7 separate regions of the Homo sapiens genome follow, and regions 2, 3, 4, 5, 6 and 7 are each linked to region 1. Evidence: promoter capture Hi-C in 16 types of primary human blood cells and fetal thymus (Javierre and others, 2016). All regions are on one chromosome and are shown on one strand. The core of a region is centred on a gene start or on the middle of the fragment in contact, and the rest is flanking DNA. Distances in the headings are between cores, read along the strand shown. Region 1 holds the start of CCN4 (cellular communication network factor 4). Region 2 overlaps PHF20L1 (PHD finger protein 20 like 1). Region 3 overlaps TMEM71 (transmembrane protein 71). Region 4 overlaps PHF20L1 (PHD finger protein 20 like 1). Region 5 overlaps TG (thyroglobulin). Region 6 overlaps PHF20L1 (PHD finger protein 20 like 1). Region 7 has its middle 9.5 kb from the start of TG.

Region 1 (2,993 bases), core at 472-2,971:
CCACTCAGACTTTGGCTTCTCTCAAACGCTCACCTTTTCTCCATCCTCTCCCTGCCCTCCCAGACATAGCAACCTGCAAAGCTATACCCAAATAAAGGCGCAGCCATACCCAGAGCCGAAATAAACAGCGACTTAGCTCCTTCTGGGCACTCCTGTAGGACACAGTCAGCTTCCCCTAAGTAGGAATGGTTAGAAATTGGCATCAGAAGATCTAAGTTTGGGCCCTGGCCACTTATTAATGAGGAGCTCCTGGGCAAGTCCTTTACTTGCTCTCACTTTCCATTTCTTTCATTTGTGAAATGGAGCTGATAACTTTCTGGTAAGGTGGTTCTGAACCAACTATAGTCAGGCACCATGCCAGGCGTGAGGATTTAACCAAGATGAAACAGACCCACTCCCCGCCATCATTACACACACCGAGGCATTGAGAGGAATTCCTATTTCCCAGGTCTCAGTTTGCTGTCGGCTCTCGGCCTCAGTTCTGGCTGAAGCAGACCTAGAGTCTGATTCTGGCAAGTGGTTTAACCCCAACACACGGTTTCCTTATCTGTGAAGGGGGCTTCTTAACCCCCAAGGAAGCCATCAGTGTCATTTGGGGATAAACACTCTTTTGCCATCACCCCTCCGTCTCTAGGCTGTTCTGCCAGGAGCAGGTCCTGCCCTGGGCTGTGGAATCTGGGGCTCAGAAGCTGCCAGGTACCCACCTCCTGCCCTCCTTGCACTGCCTGCCTCTGCCTTTTCCTCACCATGCCTGGCCCTAGCAGGCTGGCTCTACACGGTCACATATGTGACTCCCCTGGCTTTTGGAGGTGCAGACCTTTGTCCCTTCCCCTTGGTGTACCCTGGGGTGCAGGTGGAAGAGAGAGAGACTCTGGGGTGCCCACATCACCCCCACCCTGGAACAGCAGGCTTCATAGGCAGGACCCAAGTATGGACACTCTGCAGACTGCAGAGGGCTGTGCAGACCGGAGGTGACAGCAGTTGGGGTTAGACATCACCCTGAGCACTGTTTGCTCAATAAGGAGCTTTTGTTGAAAGCTGGCATTTTTCTTTCCAATTTTTTTTGGCTTTTTCCATCTCCCATCTTCGCAGCATCTCCAATGCTTGGAGTCTTGGAGTTTTCAAACTCAGAGACTCTAGAAGTCACCTAACAACTTCGTCGCTTTACGCTGCTCCTGGAGGGTGAGTGACCCACCCGAGGCCACACAGCCAGGTTAGGCGAAGACGGGTCTGGAGCCCGGGCCCCTGACTCCCAGTTCTGCTGAGGGCCCCGTTCTTTCTGCACTGTTTCAGGTGGGGAGAGAGGGCAGGCTGGACCTGTGCAGTTTGTTTCCCCAAGTGTCGCACCGTCCTCCTCACCCTGCCAGCTTCAGCCAACCTGGGCAGCTGACTCCTCACCCTGGGCTCTGTCCTTGCCCTGTAAGTGGCCACCTTCCAGCCCCAAACCTTCCTGGCCCTTTTCATCCTGCCCACCAGCCCCCATGTAGCAGGACCCAGTAGAGAAGGGAGCTGGGTCTCCCTCTGAGCCCCTCCAGGCAGGACTCACCGTGGCCAGGACGGTGCTGGCGGCTGCTGCTGTCACTGCTGCCAGCGTCCAGGGCAGGAACCACCTCATGCCTGGACGTCAGTGGCACAGGCATCGACCGAGCAGCCCAGAGGATCCGACCACCTCTCGGGGGAGCTGGGCCCAGACTGGCCGGCCCATCAGGAGCACCAGATATGCCTCTTCCGCAGCCCTTGGGGGGTTTTATTAAAGCAAGATCTGACGTCAGGGTGAAGGACAAACCCTGCATTTTCCTCTGAAAAAACTTTTCCTGCCTCTCTCTCTTTTTTTTTTTTCTTTCTTCCCTCTGTCCCCACCTCCAGCCTGAGCTTGGCCAGCCTCCCCAGCTCTGACAGTTCTTAAAGGGAAAGTTACAAGGCTATGACTTCACACTAGGGTGTGAAATTCTCACAGAGGAGCTGGGGTCATCCTGCCTAGGTCTTTCACTACTGTAGGGAGGGGGGAGCATGGGAGGGTGCAGGATGTCCGAGGAGATACTGTTACCCCAGGCAGGCGGGTGTGTGGGCTTTGAGAGGGCTCCCAGTGGGAAATCAACTCCCTGTCATTTCTTCAGGCTGCTCCTACTTCTGGTTTTCTTTTTCCTTTTCTTTTTCTTTTTCTTTTCTTTTCTTTTTTTTTTTTTTTTTTTTTTTTTTTGAGACAGAGTCTCGCTCTGTCGGCCAGGCTGGAGTGCAGTGGCGCGATCTCTGCTCACTGCAACCTCTGTCTCCCAGGCTCAAGCAATTCTCCTGCCTCAGCCTCCTGAATAGCTGAGATTACAGGCATGTGCCACCACACCCAGCTGATTTTTGTATTTTTAGTAGAGACGAGGTTTCACCATGTTGGCCAGGCTGGTCTCAAACTCCTGACCTCAGGTAATCCGCCCACATCAGCCTCCCAAAGTGCTGGGATTACAGGCGTGAGGCATTGCGCCCAACCCTACTTCTGGTTTTCATTTGCCCTCTTGCACTCCCCTCTACCTAGCTGCAAGCGAAAGAGGTGGCTTTCAGTCCACCCATCTAGAGATGATAGGAATTCACAAATAAAATGAGCTCTGAGGCTCAGGTTACAGCATCACCTTCATGACACGTGAAAGCCACGGTAACGCATTTGCTGTTTGCCGTCTCTGCTCATTGGTCAGAAGCCGTTTGGTGCTGGAGCTGTCCCCACGTGTCTCTGGATGCTTGCTATCCCTGGGGGGTTGGGTTTCCTGGCCTGTACCCTTATTGCACTGCTGCCACTGAGTCTCTTCCTTGGGCAAGAAAGGAGATGGGATGTCTTCTATGGGCTGTCCTAGTCCAGCCCTGTGCTCCCCATGGGGACCGCTGCCACAGCCTCCTGACTGATACCCAGCCTCCCTGCCCACCTTCTACCATCCACACATCTCAGAGCAATCCTTGAACTAGCGTCATGTATAGATCATCTTCTGGATACAACTGTCCAAAGCCTG
Region 2 (3,410 bases), core at 112-2,611, 390 kb after region 1:
AAACCAGAAGGAACAAGGAGGTATCTCATAAAATGAAGGAATCAATCCCCCTCCTATAATATATGTCAGTTTCATAGCTATTTATGTATCAACACTACCATTCCACACAAAATTATGTGGAAGAAGAAAAAACTGTAGGTAGGGAGAAAAAGAGGGGATCTTATTTTGGGCTGATAACATGTCTACCATTACCTTCTTTCCCAGTGAGAAAAATGTCTACAAATACAGTGTTAGAAGGACTACAGCTCACATTGCACCCACTGTAATATTAAAAGCTCTTTAAGGTGCTCAAGCTAAACTCTTAATGCAAGCAGAAGTTTATCCAGTATTAACCAACGGGTTCAAAGTCAAAAACAACAGAATTAAGACTTATTTAGGCTTAAGAATATTAATTACTTCGGAGGTTTGCATATACAAAAGTGTTACTAATGTCACATTTTAGACAGGTTCAGGAAGAGCATTTCCACAGTGCATTAATTTGTTGCACTACTCTTTGCTAGCTTAATTTAAAAATTATCTTTCTAAACAAATTCTCAAAGTACTCAAAATTTAGAAGATATTATACAAGATAGGCCCCCCTTAGCTTTGCCCAAATAACAACTGATTTGGCATATTTCTTTGATGAAGGCAAGTCAAAAGCTTGTTGGGAAAAAGCAACTCATAAAATGAGAGTCATTTATAAAACACAATTCTACAAATATTGTTAACGTTGCTGTGATTAAGAATTATAAAGAAAAAAATGAAAAATTAAAAGAAATATACTACTACCCAAATATTATTTCAGTTGTTTTATATCTTGGCACTGATCTTAATGTTATAATGCATCATAGTGTGACTAAAGAATCACTACTTATTAAAAACAAACATCCATAACATCCAATAAATTTAATTTTTACAAGCTGTAATTTTACCACAAACCAAATTGGCTCAGTGTCCCACTTTGAAAAAACAAAGTTTTAAGGCAATAATATAATGTCAATTCATGAACATCTGATCAACCAGAATAACAAAATAATTGTTTTAAAGCAAAAAAAAAAAAAAAAATTGAGACTTTTGCTTAAGCAGGTATATACAATGTTCCCAACCTTTTAATCAATCTATGTAGTAACCAAGAAATCACACCACTGAATGCTTAAAAGAACACTTTATTTATACATACATGTGGGAAGACACAAAGCCACTTCCTGATCAAAAGCATTTTCATTTTAAATTGCATTTACATATTAATTAGAAGAAATCTGCTTGCTAATCATTTCATAACTAAATTTTTGAAAACCAGGCAATTTAAAACAATCACACTTATTTCTTCATGAATAATTTTTTTAATGTGGTAGATATACATTTCTAGAGCACTAAATGTTTACACTTGACTGAAGCTGACCAGGTAATTTCAATACATTTCAGAATGACAGTTTTCACCGCATGGTATGGAACAAATACGTAGCATATTTCCATATTAGACATTTTTACACACTACTTTCAATTTCTTAAAATTAATTGTAGGTCCAGGTGCTGAAAATCCCAAATAACAGCAGAATAGAAAAGAAAATATTTTAAATTTCTAATGGCACCTTTCTTTCCAGTATTTCAGAAAACATAGCCAACAAATGGAATTGTGGTTTTTACCTCCACCCAAGATTCTCCTTCCAATGCTTACCATCCATTCTTGCTTTGAGCAGTGACAAAGCATACAATACACTGCTTCCATCACATGACTCAGAGAGCCCTATCTGAAACAGCCTACAGAGTGTCAGGTAAGCGCCTTTTAAAGGAAGATGAATGACTATGATTTGTAGAAGGAAAGAAGAAGATAAGAACTCAATGTAAATTTTTATATTAAAAATTTTTAACTTTCTAAATGACATTATATACCAGGAAAAACAAAACAAAATTTTTAAAAAAAAGGCTCTTACCTCACTTCCCATAGACTGGTTACACGATCCAGCTGGGTCGATAGGACAACACCAGCTTAGTGGATGCTGGGATTTCACCTGGAACAGAAACTAGTGACCTATAACTTTAGCAGGTCTAAACCAAAGAAGCAAAAATCAAATGTATAATTTATTTTACAGTCTAAGCTTCCTTTTCTTGCTGCTATTTGGGGCTATCAGCACATAACCCTACAATTAGTTCATTTTTAAAAAATATACATATAAATATATTTTGATCAGTCACCGTTCAAGAAGATAACCCTTTGGGTAGCTAGGAATACTGAACACTCTTACCTGCCCCTTAGCATCCTCGGGCATGGCTTTAATGTGCATTCTTTTTAAACAACGAATTACTCCATCATAAAACTGAACTGTAAATGTTCCTGAAACAGGAGCAAGTCAGAATCATTAGAAAATATAATTCAAGTTTACAGCAACACTTGAAATCTAACAAGTAGTGACTTGTATAGATAAATGCTTTAGGAATGCAAAAACTACAAATGCTCCTGTTAAGGACTCCATCAAGTTTACTTTCTCCCTCCCTCTAAAAACAACTCTGAACTCCTGTTTCCCCTAACAAGTACACAAATTAAGTCTTGATAAGTTAGTTCCATGTAATTCTGATTTTTACTAAGAAATTTTATAATTTATTTTGCAGTAATTTAAATGTTTAGACTCAACATAGCTGACAAAAGTAAAATCATTACTTACAAAAATATATAATATTTCCATAGGCATTACCATTTGCTTTTGAATGTTTCTTTCAAAAGAAGTAATACAGAGAAGGAGCTGATATGCAAAAAAGATCATTTGCCCTGGAAAGGATTATTCCTTGGGCAATAACAACAAACTGGAAAATAAGAATTGTAGTTCCAGACTTTAAAGGTAGAAAATATTTTACAAATCATCTAGATAAAAGTCTTCATAAGTAGCTCAGAACACTGAATTCTAGAGGAAGGCTAAATGCTACACCCAATGGCATTCACCTAAGTGGCAGGCAACACAGCCGTAATTAATACTTCCAATCTCATCTGGTCATCCATGTCTTTCCCACAAACTCATCCTACTTGAAGGACTCAAGATTTTGTTTGTCTATTATGAAGCATATTCACTTTTTGTTACAGACCCCATGCTTTCAAGTCAATATAAGCCAGTACTATTAGAAGATATATAAATTATGTATAATGCCTACTTAAGGAAATTCAAATGTTTTCCTGTCATTTCCTAGAAAAATGTTCTTCCACCATTTCCCCAATGAAGGCAGAGTCCCACTCTAAGTAAACAGATACTTGGTCTTTATAAAAGAATTATAAACAAGAAATGTGACAATCATTACTAATGTCCTTGGGGTTGGCACCAAAGCCGATAATATATATGTGCAAAGATTTTTTTTTTTGGGTACTCTGAATAACACCATTTGATTTTATTTCTTTCTATAATTAGCCTAACGTTGAATTTCACAGATATAAAGATCTAAAT
Region 3 (3,139 bases), core at 538-3,037, 460 kb after region 1:
ATGTCCCCGGGGAGGAGAAATCACCCCCTATTAAGAACTACTGTTGTATGAGGACCCCAATGTCTCTTGGAGCCCCATAGTCACTCAGCTCCTAGAATGGGAGACTGGGAATCTCGCAAATCTCTCACTGCTGAGTGAGCATTTTAACACACAAAGCAACTCATGTTACACTCATGCTCAGATTTTTTTAATGACTCTAAATCACCCACAGAATCAATATTAGCTTGGAGTGTGACATGAGACCCCACACAATGTGACCTCTGCTTAGCAGCCCAGACAGAATCATCTCCTGGGACTGACCTCATGCACATGCTCTTGTCTAGCTACACAGGAGGACTCTTCTGGGAACCCACCCTGGTCTCTCATAGATTGAGGTATTGTAATTTCTCCCCATCCCCACTTACTCTCTTCCTCTCTGCCTGGCCTGTCCTCTTCCTGCTGTCTCTCTGGAAGAACTGTTACTCATCCTTCCAGTTTCCACTGAAGCGCTGCCTCCTCTGTGAAGCCTCCTTGGATTTCCCTCAGACAGACTCAGACACCCCTTCCTAGATTCCCACTGGATAACTTGTTCCAGCCTTTGTTGTAGCAATTACCTCATTGCATCCTAATTGTTCATTTGCATGTATGTCCCTCTCCAGATCATGAGTAAGGCAGAGCAATATCTAATTTGACTTCCTTCTTCCAGAGCAGCATTTGCAGTATATACAATAACTGCATTGAATGAATAAATAGATCTGCCTGGCCCGTATCCATGCAGCTTTTGCCTCCCGCCTTACTTTTGCTCCACCTCCCAATTCCTCTGGCTTGGGGGTCTTCTCTGGGTATGTCACCTGGGGGCTGCTTCAGTCTTTCCTCCCAGCTGGTTTCGTATCTTTCCTTAGTCATTTTATGTTCCAGACATTCCATGACAGCAATCAAGGCAGAGAAAGTTTCTATTTGTTAACTGGGGCTGTTCAGATTCCCCTGCTTGTTCCCCTTGAAGTTCCTACTACATGGTAAAAATCACCTTCTTGATTCTTTCCTTTCTTCCTCCCTGTTTTTCTTTTGTCCCTGTCTCTAAACCCTTCTCAGGAACTGTGGCTATTCCCCACCAGGTCAGGTTGGTCTTTCCCAGAGGCCCTCTTGCTATGCCTGTTCAGCTCTGTGATGAGGCAGGGGGCAGAGATTACAGTCTTTACCCTCTGCTGGGGCACTTTCTTCTAGAGAGGACCCTGTCCTATGGTGAAGTCGGGGCAAGTAAGCAGCCATATGGGATAAACCCTGTGCCTAGAAATGTCTGGAGCAGGTTTAGGAGTCCCTTCATGGTATAGCAAATTCCTGCATATCTAATTCAAAGTAAATATTACCTTCCCCAAGGTCAAGTAATAAGCTTCTTTTATTATTGAATGATAAATTCTTAAAAATCACTTCCACCTTGAAACATCGTTTGATGACTCATCAGCACCCTTCTACCACCCCCTACTCCCCATGAAGTTGATTATCACATTTGGTCACGTAACTAGGGTCTATATCTATTATAATGTCTATTAGCAATAGAAGTTTCAATTCTCTCCATCTAAACTATATGTTGGTATGTTTACATTTTTGTCTCTTCTCCTTCACTTATCACAGCTGTAAAAAAGTAGACATTACTATCCTATTTTACATGAAGAAACTCAGGATCAGAAAAATTAAGCAAAGTGCCCTGTTACTAGTATTAGAATGTATGTTTCAGTCTTTCTGATGCCAAAGTCCTTGAAATTTCCACAAAACCATATTTCATCTCTTTTTAGCAAATGATAGTCTGTTTCCCCTGTCCATAAGTGATGCCTTCTTTATTGCCTCCCACTGTTGACTCATGTGTACATGCACACACACACAAACACACACATGCACACATGTACACACACACCCTAGATTTCAACTTCTTTTGGGACAGTGTCTTATTCTCCCTTGTTTCCCTCCTAAGTGTCCTACAGTTCATAAGTTTACCAAATATTTGCCCAGTCGATATTCATATTTCCCTTAGTCATGAAATCAAGGCTTAGATGGACCATAGAAGTAATTGTCCTGTTTAGACAAGAAGCAAAAATAAGGACATACTATGGGTATAAAATAACCACAAAAAAACAAAAAACACAAATTTTACAGGTCTTCAGAGTTTCCCCAAGGTAAAATAAATTAGGACAATTTCTCCAAACATCATGCCTCCTGCTCAAAGCTTAAAGCCAGACGGTAACATCCTGGCTACTCCCATCATCTCCCACTGCAGGATTATCTTTTTCTGAAGCATCATATTTATTCTCCTTACCCATAGGAGATTATCTCCCTGCATAATTTATAATTTTAGATTGTGAGCTCATGTCCTTTGGGCTTTATCTGGGGAAATCTGTGCAGCTTGGGCTGAGAGTGTGTTTCCACAGAGAGCTTTTATGTTGGCTTCTGGCAGATATCACAGGGCTAGTACCAGCCTGAGACTTTTTAAAATATTAATTTCCCAGGTTAGTATAAATTTTAACTCAAGGCCAGGCATGGTGACTCATGCCTGTAATCCTAGCACTTTGGGAGGCCGAGGTGGGTGGATCATCTGAGGTCGGGAGTTCAAGACTAGTCTGACCAACATGGAGAAACCCTATCTCAACTAAAAATACAAAATTAGCTGGGCATGGTGGCACATGCCTGTAATCCCAGCTATTCGGGAGGCTGAGGCAGGAGAATCGCCTGAACCCAGGAGGTGGAAGTTGCTGTGAGCTGAGCTTGCGCCATTGCACTCCAGCCTGGGCAACAAGAGCAAAACTCCGTCTCAAAAAAAAAAAAAAAATTTAACTGAAAACCCACTTACTTATAAAGTGTTGGCGGAGACATTTTCCTCCCACCCACTACATAGGCCAAAACAGATAAGCTTTCATGCCTTCTCCTAGAACTAGTGGGCAGATTTTTTTTCTTAGCCATCCTTTCATTGAGGAAATAGCATTTTGAGTCCCTACAGAAACTCGGTTTTAATTTTCTGCCTCTCTTGAGACCAAGGCCTTTTTTCTGTCCCTAATGTCATTTAATCCATAGACCTTTGACTACTATGACTTCTAAGGCCCTCTCCCCACCCCTTTTGGCAGCTTTGTCCACAGCGTATGCTTAGAGTTATAGGTTTCCCTGGCTTGGC
Region 4 (3,188 bases), core at 428-2,927, 370 kb after region 1:
AGGCAATCCCTGAGACTCTCCATAGAAACCCCAGGCTCTGTAGAAGCCATGAACATTTGGTATGAGGGTGGAGGCAACAGAGTCTCCAGCTGTAGTTTTGTTTTGAACGAATCTGGAAAATAAACTGAAAAACAATTTAAAACAAAAAGACTTTTAAATAGTAAATGTAAAGTTGATGTGAGATGTTGGAATAAAAATGAAGGCCATTTCAAAACCCACCACAGGCAGATGAGGTAGAACTGACAAGATGCTTTTTTGCCATACTTAGACCAACCCCATGACCTACTTCTGTTTTTCACTGGTGATAAAATGGATTATATTAACCAATCGATAATATAATTCATGAACACTCTACAGAATATTCACTAAGAAGAGTCCAACTATCTCATCTATGATAGTATCATAGTATCTATGTAAGTATCTATGTAATAAGTAAATACATTTACTTGCATCTACATTTCATTCAAAAACTAAGATGACTTTGAATGACACTGAAGCAAAGCCTGATGCATTTCATCGAATGCTACCCGAAAACTCAGGGGACCTGCTCATGGACATCCTGACGTTACATAAAGGTACACTCTGCATGGCCACGTCAAGCCAACATTCCTATCCATGCTAACTAAGACATGCTGCAATAAAACAGGAAAATGCTCCTTGAAACTTATTTACTAATTTGCTAAAAAATAAAAAAAAAATGAAGATGGGTTACTAAAGGTATTTCTTTTAATACAAGAATAACTTTTTAAAATGGCTCAAAATTATATGCATACAACCTACTAATGCCAATTTTGTCTTCACAGTGGTTACAAACAATAAGTTATCATCTCTAAGGCTATCTTAATTGACGTTTTTAAGCAAAAATAATCCTACATCATAATCTTTTTTTGGAATAAACATAGACTCTATCAAATGCCTGATTAATGATAAGTAAAACATCAACATTGTAGAGCCAAAAGTGACCACAGACATCATCTACTATAATCTCATCATATAGATGAAAAACTGAGTTTCAAGGAAGCAGGAAGAGAAGGCAGATGGTTTGTCTCTCCAGAGTTTTTAAGAGGCTCTACCAGAGGCCTCTTGGGGCAATCTTTTGTTCCTTTACACCCAAGAGTACTTTACACCTATTCAGGCACTTAATCTTGCTTTAAATATTTGTATTTCAGTTATTAGCTTTGTGTCCCTTCTAGACTCTAAGTTTCCAGAAGGCAGATTCCACATCTGTTCACACTGTGCTTCCCACCTAAAGAGAATTGTGTTGACAAGGGGCAATAGATAACTGTTGGCCCAAGGTGCCTGTGAGAACCTGAACCAAGAGTATTTTTCAAAAGACCCCTTTTCAAAAAACTTGATTTACTCTATCCTCCCAGATACTAACAGAATTAAGATTTTCTGAGGCTGTATCCTTATCTAAAATTGGCTGGCTCTGTGACAAAGCATCCTGATAGTAAAATAAAAACAAAGGCATCAATTTTTACAAAGATACCAATTACTTGTTTGGTAATGTAGGCAGCAATAGCATTCTTAACAGTGGCTAGACATGTGGGCATCCACCCCAGCAGAAGAACATACGAGAGATTATTGCAAGTTCATTATCTCTATTGGAAAACAATTAAGAAAAGTTGTATATAATAATTGGACTATCTGCAAATCTCATCAATCCTTCAGCATCAAATGCTAAACTCAACAGTGTGAATTTATCTTGCTCCCCCAAAAGTAAAAACCTAACCATGTTGAACAATTTCACAGTTAGCAACTAACACCCTCATCATTCTAAACTCCCCAAGAGTTTCAATTTGACAAAAATAACTCAGAAAATGTCTCTGACGAACTGTAAAGAATGTTTTCAATTATCAGTTTTAAAATTCAACAGTAAGAAAATTTACTTTTATAATATGGACACCAACAAAACATACATGTGTGTATGAGTATGTGCATATATGTACATATGTATCAGAGAAATAAAAACATAAAAACCTGGCACTTTGGCTCTAGATGTAAAAGGACTTGGGGAACAGACAGAAGCATAACAAATACTGCAAAATAGTCAAGAGAGGGTGAATAACAAAAAGGTTAAGGAGAAAAGCATAGAGACCACCGAGAATTTCAATGCACGTGGGACAGGCACACAAGGTTGTAATCAAAAGGTGTTCAGTCAGAACATGACCTAAATTGCACTACTTTCCTCAAAAACTAAAAATTAAGAGGTCACAGAAACAAATGAGAATTTCACCTCCCTCTATTCAAATACTGTGTTCAACCCTCTAATAAATCTTCAGTAATTAACAATTAAAACTATGCATTTCCTTGCTATAATCAATTAAAGTTGACAGCTACTGTACTATTAAGCTCATCATATCCAGATAATCCTTACTCTTCCACAAATTCAAATTATAGCTAAACTCCTCTCTACCTTTTACTTTCCCAGAAAACGATCTTACTTATTTTACTTTTCCAATAGTTACTGCTAATATTTAAAAAGGGAAAGAATATTCGTGTGCCTTCCTCTAAGGTAGTCAGCCACATTGCCACAAATATGCTAGAAATTCTGAAAAGAGGAAGTTAATAATCTGGTTAGAAGCAAAATCATCGAAGTCAAGGACTTCCATGCACAATCACTACATTGATATTTTATGATATATAATCTGTTAATGTAAGACTCTTAGTTATTACACAGTTACTTATATTGGCCTATATTTCAATATTGTTACAAATATTAGAATACTTTTAAAGAAAAATGTAAATATTTTCACATGTACATTTGAAAATAATTTTCCCAATGTATATACAACCTTATAACTTTAACATATTTTTCATATATTCAGTACGGTAACAAATTCCAGATCGTTAAAGAACCGAATAAGACCTTTATCAAAAAAGTATCTCAATGGGTCAATGACAATTTGGAAATCTTGTGGAAAAGTGGAAAAGAAAAATTAATTATCTTAAGGAAAGACCAAGAGTCAAAAGACAATAGATCTGATTTGAGAAACTACAGGAAATGTTTCAAAATCTACAAATATTCACATTTGGGTATTGTTTTATTTTTTTAAACATGATAAAGAATTATCATGTACAAAGTAACTTCAACCTTTATATAAAGATAAAAATTAATAAAAATAAGTATATGTCTCTTATGTTACTTCAATCATTTTATTTCAATACATGCCATCACCAGAAAAGAA
Region 5 (2,983 bases), core at 308-2,807, 290 kb after region 1:
TCCCCTCCCACCCCTGCCTTCCCAGCTTCTCTAGTACTTCACCCAGTCTGGATCAAAGAACAGATATGCAGGCCTCGTCGTCCCCCCAGGGGGTCATGACTTACTCTCACAGGCGGGCTGGCCCCCGGTCACGCGCGTCCCAGGCACCTCTTCTCCGCTGTCCATGACACACCAGCAGCTGCCCTGGGCCTGGTCACATTGCACTGGGGAAAAGCCCCCATCCTCTGCCCTGCAGGCTGGGACATAGCCTGGGCTGACTCTCCTGGAGAGGACTCCACTCTTGAGCACATTGCAGAGGCTTGGGCCTGACACAGAGACAAGCCAGATGGGCTGGGGAATCAGTGCCCACTCCCTGCTCAGATGCCCAATCACCCTCCTCACCACCCACGGCCACCCTCAGCCCACCTGCCTGCAGGGCCTTCCAGGGGTCTGGGGCTGCCTCCCCACCAGGAGGTTGAATGACAACAAGGCAAACACTGGACCTGGCTCAGCTCTGTACTCTCTCCCCTCCACTGCCTGCCCTCAAGCAGCTTAGAGTCTTAAAGGAGAGTTAACAAGTACGTGAGCAGGTACAGTTCTGTGAAATAAAGGCAACAATAGTGCAGTGTAGGAGCCTACAGAGGAAGAGAGAGGCCAGCAGAGGCTTCCTGGAGGGACAGATGTGTGGTCTGAGCAAGAATTTGTCAGGTGGGGAGGGGATAGACGGACATATTGCAGGTGGCACAGCCAGAACGCGTGAAGGCACAGGTGGAAGAAAGCGTCTTCCTTTTTCCAAAGTCTGACCAGAATTTATCACAACTGCACCCTGAAGCACAACTGATGGAGAAGAAAGAGAAGTCGAAGAAGACACACCAGCACCAGATGCAAAGGGCCCTCGAGCCATTCCAGGGAGCTCAAGCACGGCCCCGAAGATGATGGGAGCATTTATGGTGTTTAGGCAGAAGAGGGACATCTGCACATTGCCCTTTGGGGACATCACCTGGGCTTCACTGCGGAAACCAGACGGCAGGGCCACACATCCGGCCAGCCCTCCAAAGCCCTAGGGCCCCCTTTGATGGGGATCAATGCTGGTTTGCACTTCTCAGACACAAAGCACAGCCTACTCCCTCCCACGTTTGCTTCTCCCAAGAAACTGCAGAGATGGGGGAATATTGCCCCGATTTCATAGATGAGAAAACTGAGGCATAGTGAGGTCAGCAGCTGTGCCCCCACAGCTATGGAAGCAGTAGAGCTGGGACACGAAGCCAGCTCTTTGGACTCCACGCTCAGTGCCCCACAGAAGAGGTGAGAAGCCATGCCAGGAGGGGCTGCTACTCACACTGGGCACTGCTGCTCGAGCCAGGCCGCAACTCTTCTCCTGATGCAGGGTCCACACACCAGGTGCCAGCCCCCGATGCCTGCAGCCTGGCATACTCTCCTGTCTGAGACAAAGCCGGGGTCATGTCAGTCACTGTGGGCAAGATGCTCTAGTGGCCAACCTGCTGCTGGCAGATGTCAAAAGTGTCCCTTCCAAAACAACAGGTGATGGCTTCTCCAGACGGAGAGATGTGGAGGTGGGGAGAGGTGCTCTCCTGTTCCCAGCCCTTTACGTGCATCATTTGATTGACGGCTACAACAGCCTCATGAGGCATGGACCACAGTTCTCCCGCTTTTGGGTGGGTGAAACTGAAGATCTCTCAGAGAGGGAAAGTGGGGCAACAACTCACAGCTGGTGAGTGAGAGGCAGGTCAGGTCCAGGCCCAAACCCATCTAGACCCAAAGCCTAGCCATGCTCCTGGACCAGCCTCACTAATTCCAGAAATGATTTTGACAAGTACTAGAGTCCTCCACAGGAACTGGCCTTGCAAACCACACCTCAGAGCGCCTCTAAGCTCCACTCTGTAATCCCTTCTCCCACCATCGGACATTGTGGCTTCTACCTCTCCTTCTCTCTGTGTAAGCATCAGTGCCCAGGAAGGAGAAGCAGAATTGCATTCCAACAGTAGGTGCTTTCCAGCCAAGATTAAAAAACTAAACAATAGTGACTAATTTCTCTATGAAACTATGCTTAAGTGGGTCCATGTTTACAGTACCAAACAATAATAAGGAAACTTTTGCTTAGTACTGTACAGTTTCATGAGTTTCAACACTGCTGTTTCATCTGCTTCTCATCAAGTCTTTGGAAGCTGAGCAGAGTGGGTGGTGGTGTTCCTACCATCCTATTTTAGAAAAAGGACACTAAGCCCAGAGATTTCCCTCACTTGGCAAGTAAGTGGTTAAGTTCTGGGCATAAATTCGTTCTCTAGGAGCTCTACATCAGTACTTCGCTGAATTATGAATTGTTACAATCACCCCGGGAGCTAGGGAGGGAAAGAAGCTGGTGTCCTCTGTGTGTGTTGAGAACCTGGGACACTGTAAGCATAGGGCCTTGGCCAAGATGCCTTTAGGAAAAACATGATAGCATGTTTTGTTTATTTTTCAAAGAGTTCTTATGAAAGATATTTTCTTGGAGTCTCAAAACAAACCTAGCATTAGCTAGGACAAAATGTGGCCTGATCTTATGATTAAACAAAACAAACTGGGACACAGAAAAGGTAAGTAAATAGCCCAAGGTCACAGAACCAGGTTCTAGCAGGCCCAGACAAACACCCAGGCTGAGAACATCATGTGAGCTTTTAACTAAGCTGAACGTATTGAACAAAAAGAAAAATCATCTCTGACCAGCGGGGACAAGTCCCGGCTCCAATCCTGTGCTTCCAGACCCTTACTTCTAGGCAGGCTGGGACGAACAGGTCTTTTGGAGATGGGTTTTCTTGGGATCTAGCCTGTTTCCAACTGGAAAGCAGCCCACTGGTTCGAGATTTCTCGCAGGTTGTCGGGCCTGTGGGAGAGAGAGGTGCTTGTAAAGGACTGGTCGTGGGAGCCAAGAGAAAGAGGGGATCCCAGGCTGACCCCACCTTTAAGGGTCATGAGCCTGGGTGAATGCAGGTGCTCTTCATAGAGA
Region 6 (2,966 bases), core at 389-2,888, 350 kb after region 1:
ATGGGATGACTAACATATTTGGTGCACAGCAGAGAAGTGAATTCGGTTTGTAGGCTCCCTTCATCACCTTTAAATCAATCTTTATAAAAAAAAATACTCACCCTGCTTAGAATCTATTTCATTTGATAGCATTCCTGAAGGAGGACACAACGTATAGGGTTCACCACAGCAACTGCACTTAATTTTGCACATACGGTAAGCATACAAAACAGTGGGACAGGAGCTAAAATGTGTTGAAATACTAGATGCCGTATCTACCTTTAACCACACTTACACATTCTAGAATAGACAGGAAGCACCAACGCATCCAAAAGGTTGTTAATCTTTCCTTATTTTTAAAAATGAAACTTTATTCAAATACCTGTTCTCTCCTCCAAACTGTTACTCTGGACCATCAAAAGGCCAACAGTGTTGGTTTGAATTAAAACGTCCACTGAAGTGTGACCCTCCCTTTGCTGCCCTTCACTTACTTTAGTATTCCAATCTTCAGCTGTAGCCCGTGTAGCACTTCTGTAACACCATAGACATCAGCAAGCAGGTGATGTGTAGAAACTATCTTTTTGGCATTGAGATGAGAATAATTTTCTTTGAAAAATGATAACCCGCACATTCTCCCATTATTCAACCACTCCTTATCATAACGATATTTTGCACTCCACCTCTGACCTGCAGATGAAGTTGATATTAAATCACAGAGGACTGCACTTACTCGGATTTTTCATCAACTGCTAACCTACTAACGTTGCTCATTAAGCAAGGCAAGCTCTAGCACTAGGAGCAGATTCAAAAAGAGTAAGACAGCGTTCTGAGGAACTGGTGCAGGAAGAGCTCCTCCACACCTTCAGCGTTCCTGCCCACCCAGGAGAAGAAACACCATTAAGGACATGGTCAGTGGCAGATGACACTTGCAAAGGGAACCTTGAGTGTACTGCTTTCAATGTTTTGTAGTCATCATCTGTCCTCTAAAAAGGCTCAAAGGGCTGGATAAAAACTAGACAGGGGTTATTTCTCTCACTAACCTTTGTTTTGAACTGGATGAACCATAGAGTTCTAGCTGAGTGAATAGGAACCCTTCCCCCATGTCTGTGATTTCACAGAATCCTATGAAATTCCATATCCTTCATGTTAATATAAATTAGATCCTATTACAACCAGGTGTTTATTGCCTGTGTCCCATACTATACTACTAGCCAGTTGAAGGCATGGTTTAAATCAATCATCTCACCACAGTGGCAAATAGAAGCCATCCAGTAAATGCTTCTGAATAAATAACAAATGTCTACATTTGTTATTGAATAAATACAATGAATAATGAACACTATAAATGTTGGTGAATGAACAAATGTCTACATTCATATGGCTGTGAATAATTAATTCTCTTGCTTCTTACTGTGACTTTTTTGTGACTTATTGTGACTTTTTTCTTTTTTTCCAATAGTCATGGGACCAATTCACCACATGCCTATTATTTGAGAAAACCTAGTTATTTCCTGCCTGGAGGCTGAAGTTAAATTCAATATGCAGAATATGCTATCTGAAGATCCTCTAGCATAGAAGAAGGCACCAAGTAGACAGCATGGTGGATTGAGAGTCAAAAGGCATAGATTTCATCTCAGTCTGCCTCATCAGTAAAATAAAGGCATCACAGGTAGTGTTCTAAGACCCCACCTGCTCTACAATGAGTCGAATATGCAGAACTGCCAGGTCAGTAGCATGCAAGTTCATAATGCAGATCTACTCCGATTGCCACAAATAAGCCTAGCTAGAAATGGATACAGAGGAACAGAGGCTAATTAATTCTTCTCCAGGAAAAAGTCACACCTCTTCCCTTCCAGTAGGATAGTAATTTTGTTGATAAATATATGCTAATGTATTTGTCTAAGTAATCAATGTGGAAAATAAAAATGTAACAGTGAAAAAATATTTTAAAATTTTAATACGGAAGTTGAGTCTAATTGACCAAGAAGTACAGTGAGTCCTCACTAAGGGTAATCAATAGGTTCTTGGAAACTGGCACACTGAATAATGAAATGAATTGTACTATAAGCTAATTGATACATACAAGTTAAGTTCCTATGGCATATAGCATGCTGTTTCATTTGGAGTCACAGTTTCCAAGAACCTATCAATGACATCATGTGAGAACTTGCTGTAGTGGTGGTGAACACAGCTGATACACTCTGGAATCCTGGAGGAGACATAGAGGCATCCTGGCAATCAGCACGGCACAGAAAGCCTTACCTGGTGGGTCCCGGCAGATATAGCAGATGTACTGCTCTGGAATGCTCTCCTCCAGCAGCCCCATGCACACGCTGTGTTGCCAACACAAGCACTCTTCACACTGCAGAAAACAGAGGAGTATTACAGTCACCCGATCCTCACTAGGAATAAGCTAGGAATAAGGATACATGCCCTTTCTTTGAATTGGCTGGCTTGGCTTCTTACTGCCACTATCAGTTTCATACTTATTTGACACAACAAAATCAAGCCATGACTTAAGATGAATTTTATCTTTGAAATGGTCAACTACTTCACGAACTTTCTTTTGTTGCACCTATTAGAATATGCTTTGATCAAGTACTTAAGTCATAATTTCTCTAATTTAATTCTCACTGATATTTAGGCAATCATATCATAAAACTCTTAAAATAGTTTATTAAAATGCGGAAATTAGGGGAAAAAAAAGTTGGTAGCAGTGTCTATACCAATGATCTCTTAAAGTACTACTTCTGTGGTGAAGTTATAAATTCATAGTTCCCTCCATAAAACCACAGAAAAATGGGAGGAAAAAAGATTACTCTTTCTTCATGCTCTCAACTAACATCTCCAAATCTTCTGGCATCACAAAATTTGGGTTATGCTTTCCTTTTATCTTAAAGATATCTTTCCTACAAGAAGAAGTTGTTAACTCCTGCAACAAAATTTTTCCTTTAAGAATACTGGACATTTTTATGTTTTAATCACTG
Region 7 (3,179 bases), core at 678-3,177, 330 kb after region 1:
TAAGATGCATCTCCTTGTGTTGAACATCCTTGAAACCTCTCAATTTCTATTTCTCCTTTGATCCCAATATGCAACACTGAAGGTGGACGTATCTGGCCATACTTCTTCTGCTGGCTCTTGTGAACAGCCATGTACAGCCCTGTCTCACACTGGCTGCTGCCCTGGAATTTTGCAACCCTCTGAAATCTTACCCTTGGGGATGTTTCCTCCTTGTCCCCCAATTTTTTTAGTGGAAGTACCATTTTTAGCTTATGGAGGTTTTTGAAGGCTGTCACTCTATGGGACTGGTAATGATTAGAAGCCCATTGCTCCCGAAAACACTGCTTTTCTTTATTTTCAACTGTTCTGTGTCTTGAGTAGTAGTTGTTTTACTACACTGTTTTCTGCTCTAGAGAAATACAGCATTGGCATTTTGTTTTCCACTGTGGTTCTCCCTTTCGCTTTCTGAAAGGCCCAGCCTATTTTCCAATAGGTTAACTAGCTTAAGTCACTCTCCTTTCTTCTCTGATTCATTTTGGGCTGGGATGGTTTGCTGGATTTGAGCCCTTCTTTTTGTTCTGTTCTTTCTAGAAATAGTTTTAAACATATGCCACTAGATTTTGTCCACTTGTTTCTCTCAGATCTGAGGAGATAAAATCAATATACTCTGGGACTGCCCAAAGCATCAGTTATTCAGACCTATCTTGTCCGCTGCCACTTCCTCAAGTGTCTCCGTCAAGTCATTCTGCCATGTGACCAACAGTTCAGACATGTACACTATCCTGTTTTGCCTGGCCCCTTCAATGGCTCTCATATTAGTGTGCCTCACTTTAGAGCCATCATTCTGTAAATTTTTCGGGCATGTTTCCTTGGGTCATAAATAGCATCTGTATCTCCACCTCTGCATGAAGATGGCTGCCTCACCTTGAAACTCACTAAAACTACTTTGAGTACTCTGTATATTTGGTCCAATCTTATTACATATGTCTAGGTTTTCTGTAAGCATCCCATATAGTAGCCCATTCTTCATGGGATGGTTCCCACTTACTGAGCTATTTGTTGTTTTAAGATGGAACTTCTCAACTGTTGGTTGATCCTAGTTCTCTCCTTGAAGAAATCCAACAAAAGAGCCAAGATCTTCCAAGATCTGAGTGCAGTGTGGTCCAAAATTTCCAAGTTTGTTTTGATTTGCGAAAATTAAGATGTTTCTGCTTTCTCTAGTGTCTACTTTCAGAGCAATTGAATTCCCTGTGCATCTCCACTTCCCACTTGTATCAGCCTACCCAGGCCTTCAAAGCCCTATTTTATATTTAAATCTGACCAGTCTGCCTTCACAGATTGCACAGTTTCTCCAAAGCAACACTCTCTTCTATCTTCCTTCATTTCATTTTCATTCTTTCACGGCTTCTTTTTCTCATGACTGCATTTCCTCCTTGATTCACTGAGCCAGCCTGATTCCTAGAGACAGTGTATTGCAAGGATTAACTTTAAATTGCCTGTGGGTTTGTAATAATTTCACTGAATTTTTTTCTTTCTCAAACTAAAAAGATAGCATATTAAAATTATCCTTTCATATTCCTTTTTCAGAAATAGAAAGAAATTTGAAGTTTTTAATTTTTTTAAATTAATAGACTTTACAGTTTTAGATTTACAGAAAATTGAGCAGATAGTACAGAGTTCCCATATACCCTCCTTCCCCATGCAGTTCTCCCTACTGTTCACATTTTATATCAGTGTGGTGTATTTGTTACAATTAACCACTATTGGTGCATTCTGAACTACAATCCATAGGTTGCATTTTCACTCTTGTCTCATATAGTTTTTCTTTAACTTTTCATTTTGAAATAATTACAGACTTACCCAAAGTCGCAGTAGTAGTACAAAGTTTCTATATACCCCTTAATCAATTTCACTTAATGTTAACATCACATCAGAATAATACTATTAACTAAACTGAATACTGTAATAGAATTTCACCAATTATTGCACTAATGTTCCTCTTTCTGTTCCAGGGTCCAGTCCAGGATTTAACATTTTATTTGGCTGTAACATCTCCTTGGTTTCATCATAATCAACAATTTGATGTATATGTGTTCTTTAAAAAAAATTTTTAAAAGACTTTGGTGAGATAACTCACATACCATACAATTTGCCTATTTAAAGTGTATTCAACAATTTAATAGCTGTTGGTACAGCTATTAAACAGCTTTTGGTACCTTTACATAACTTTGCATCCATCACTATAAATTTTAGAATGTTATTCTCAAAAGAATCCCCCACCCTTTAGCCATCATCCTCCAATTTCCCCATTCCCCACCCCGCCACAGCCCTAGGTAACCACCAATCAATCCAGTTTCTGTCTCTATAGATTTTTCTGTTCTGGAAAATTCATATAAATTGAATCATACAATATGTGGTCTTTTGTGATTGGCTTCATTCACTTAGTATGAGGGTTTCAATGTTCATCTATGTTATAGATGTGTTGTAGCATGTATCAGTAATTCATTTGTTTTTATTGCTGAATAATATTCCATTATGTAGATACACTAGATTTTATTGATCCATTTATCAATTGGTGCACATTTATGTTGTTTCTGCTTTTTGGCCATTATGAATAATATTGCTATGAACATTTGTAAATAAGTTTTTATGTAGACATGTTTTCATTGCTCTTGGGTACATCAATATCAGACAGAACAGATTTTAAGACAAGGAGTACTACTAGACACAAAAAGTCATATTTAATAACAATGAAAAGGTTAATATGCCAGGATATAAAAAATTGTAAATACACACACACACACACACACACACACAAACTACAACAAGAAAGACCCAAAAAGCACAATATAAAAATTGATTTAATTGAAAAGACAAATAGACAACTCAATCATTTTAGCTGATAATTTCAATATCTCTTTCTTAATAGTTGATATACCAACTAGAGAGAAATCAGTGAAGATATAGCAGACCTGAGCTAAACTCTTAACCAAGTTGACCTGATACGTATAGAACACTTCACATAACAATAGCATAATACACATTCTTTTCAAGTGCACATTTAATATGCTAGGCATTAAACAAGACTTAATAAATTGAAAAGGACTAAAATTATATAAGAATATTCTCCAACAATATTGGAATAAAATTAGAAACAATCAACAGAAGAAATATGAGAAATACCCATGTGCTAGGAAATT

The links. The method cuts DNA at HindIII sites, captures the fragments that hold promoters and counts their contacts. A CHiCAGO score of 5 or more calls a contact.
Region 2: a contact is called between a fragment that was not itself captured here and the fragment with the promoter of CCN4 in region 1, in 1 of 17 cell types (activated CD4 T cells). The highest score is 5.5, in activated CD4 T cells.
Region 3: a contact is called between a fragment that was not itself captured here and the fragment with the promoter of CCN4 in region 1, in 1 of 17 cell types (activated CD4 T cells). The highest score is 5.2, in activated CD4 T cells.
Region 4: a fragment that was not itself captured here is called in contact with the fragment with the promoter of CCN4 in region 1 in 2 of 17 cell types (activated CD4 T cells and M2 macrophages); the score reaches 7.3 in activated CD4 T cells.
Region 5: a fragment that was not itself captured here is called in contact with the fragment with the promoter of CCN4 in region 1 in 12 of 17 cell types (activated CD4 T cells, naive B cells, non-activated CD4 T cells and 9 more); the score reaches 11.7 in activated CD4 T cells.
Region 6: a contact is called between a fragment that was not itself captured here and the fragment with the promoter of CCN4 in region 1, in 5 of 17 cell types (activated CD4 T cells, M1 macrophages, non-activated CD4 T cells and 2 more). The highest score is 7.6, in activated CD4 T cells.
Region 7: a contact is called between a fragment that was not itself captured here and the fragment with the promoter of CCN4 in region 1, in 13 of 17 cell types (activated CD4 T cells, non-activated CD4 T cells, M2 macrophages and 10 more). The highest score is 12.3, in activated CD4 T cells.

The regions. Positions count from the first base shown.
Region 1 is chr8:133,189,767-133,192,759 of GRCh38, reverse strand. CCN4 (cellular communication network factor 4) reads right to left here and starts at 1,721. Exons shown (of 5, transcript NM_003882.4): 1 at 1,547-1,721. The coding sequence starts at 1,615. RefSeq lists a silencer at 602-849. The HindIII fragment of the contact is 13,274 bases long and covers 1-2,993 here.
Region 2 is chr8:132,797,676-132,801,085 of GRCh38, reverse strand. It overlaps PHF20L1 (PHD finger protein 20 like 1), which reads right to left. Exons shown (of 21, transcript NM_016018.5): 5 at 2,226-2,314; 6 at 1,914-1,991. Among named protein-coding and RNA genes, the nearest start is that of PHF20L1, 24 kb to the right of the region's middle. The HindIII fragment of the contact is 1,439 bases long and covers 642-2,080 here.
Region 3 is chr8:132,729,621-132,732,759 of GRCh38, reverse strand. The region is part of intron 5 of TMEM71 (transmembrane protein 71); the gene reads left to right. Among named protein-coding and RNA genes, the nearest start is that of TMEM71, 29 kb to the left of the region's middle. The HindIII fragment of the contact is 831 bases long and covers 1,372-2,202 here.
Region 4 is chr8:132,818,459-132,821,646 of GRCh38, reverse strand. All of the region lies in intron 12 of PHF20L1 (PHD finger protein 20 like 1), which reads right to left. Among named protein-coding and RNA genes, the nearest start is that of PHF20L1, 45 kb to the right of the region's middle. The HindIII fragment of the contact is 8,257 bases long and covers 1-3,188 here.
Region 5 is chr8:132,898,675-132,901,657 of GRCh38, reverse strand. TG (thyroglobulin) reads right to left here. Exons shown (of 48, transcript NM_003235.5): 14 at 2,748-2,860; 15 at 1,319-1,421; 16 at 105-305. Among named protein-coding and RNA genes, the nearest start is that of TG, 33 kb to the right of the region's middle. The HindIII fragment of the contact is 3,394 bases long and covers 1-2,983 here.
Region 6 is chr8:132,837,087-132,840,052 of GRCh38, reverse strand. PHF20L1 (PHD finger protein 20 like 1) reads right to left here. Exons shown (of 21, transcript NM_016018.5): 17 at 2,242-2,341; 18 at 471-666. Among named protein-coding and RNA genes, the nearest start is that of TG, 28 kb to the left of the region's middle. The HindIII fragment of the contact is 4,112 bases long and covers 1-2,966 here.
Region 7 is chr8:132,855,862-132,859,040 of GRCh38, reverse strand. No RefSeq gene overlaps it. Among named protein-coding and RNA genes, the nearest start is that of TG, 9.5 kb to the left of the region's middle. The HindIII fragment of the contact is 7,954 bases long and covers 1-3,179 here.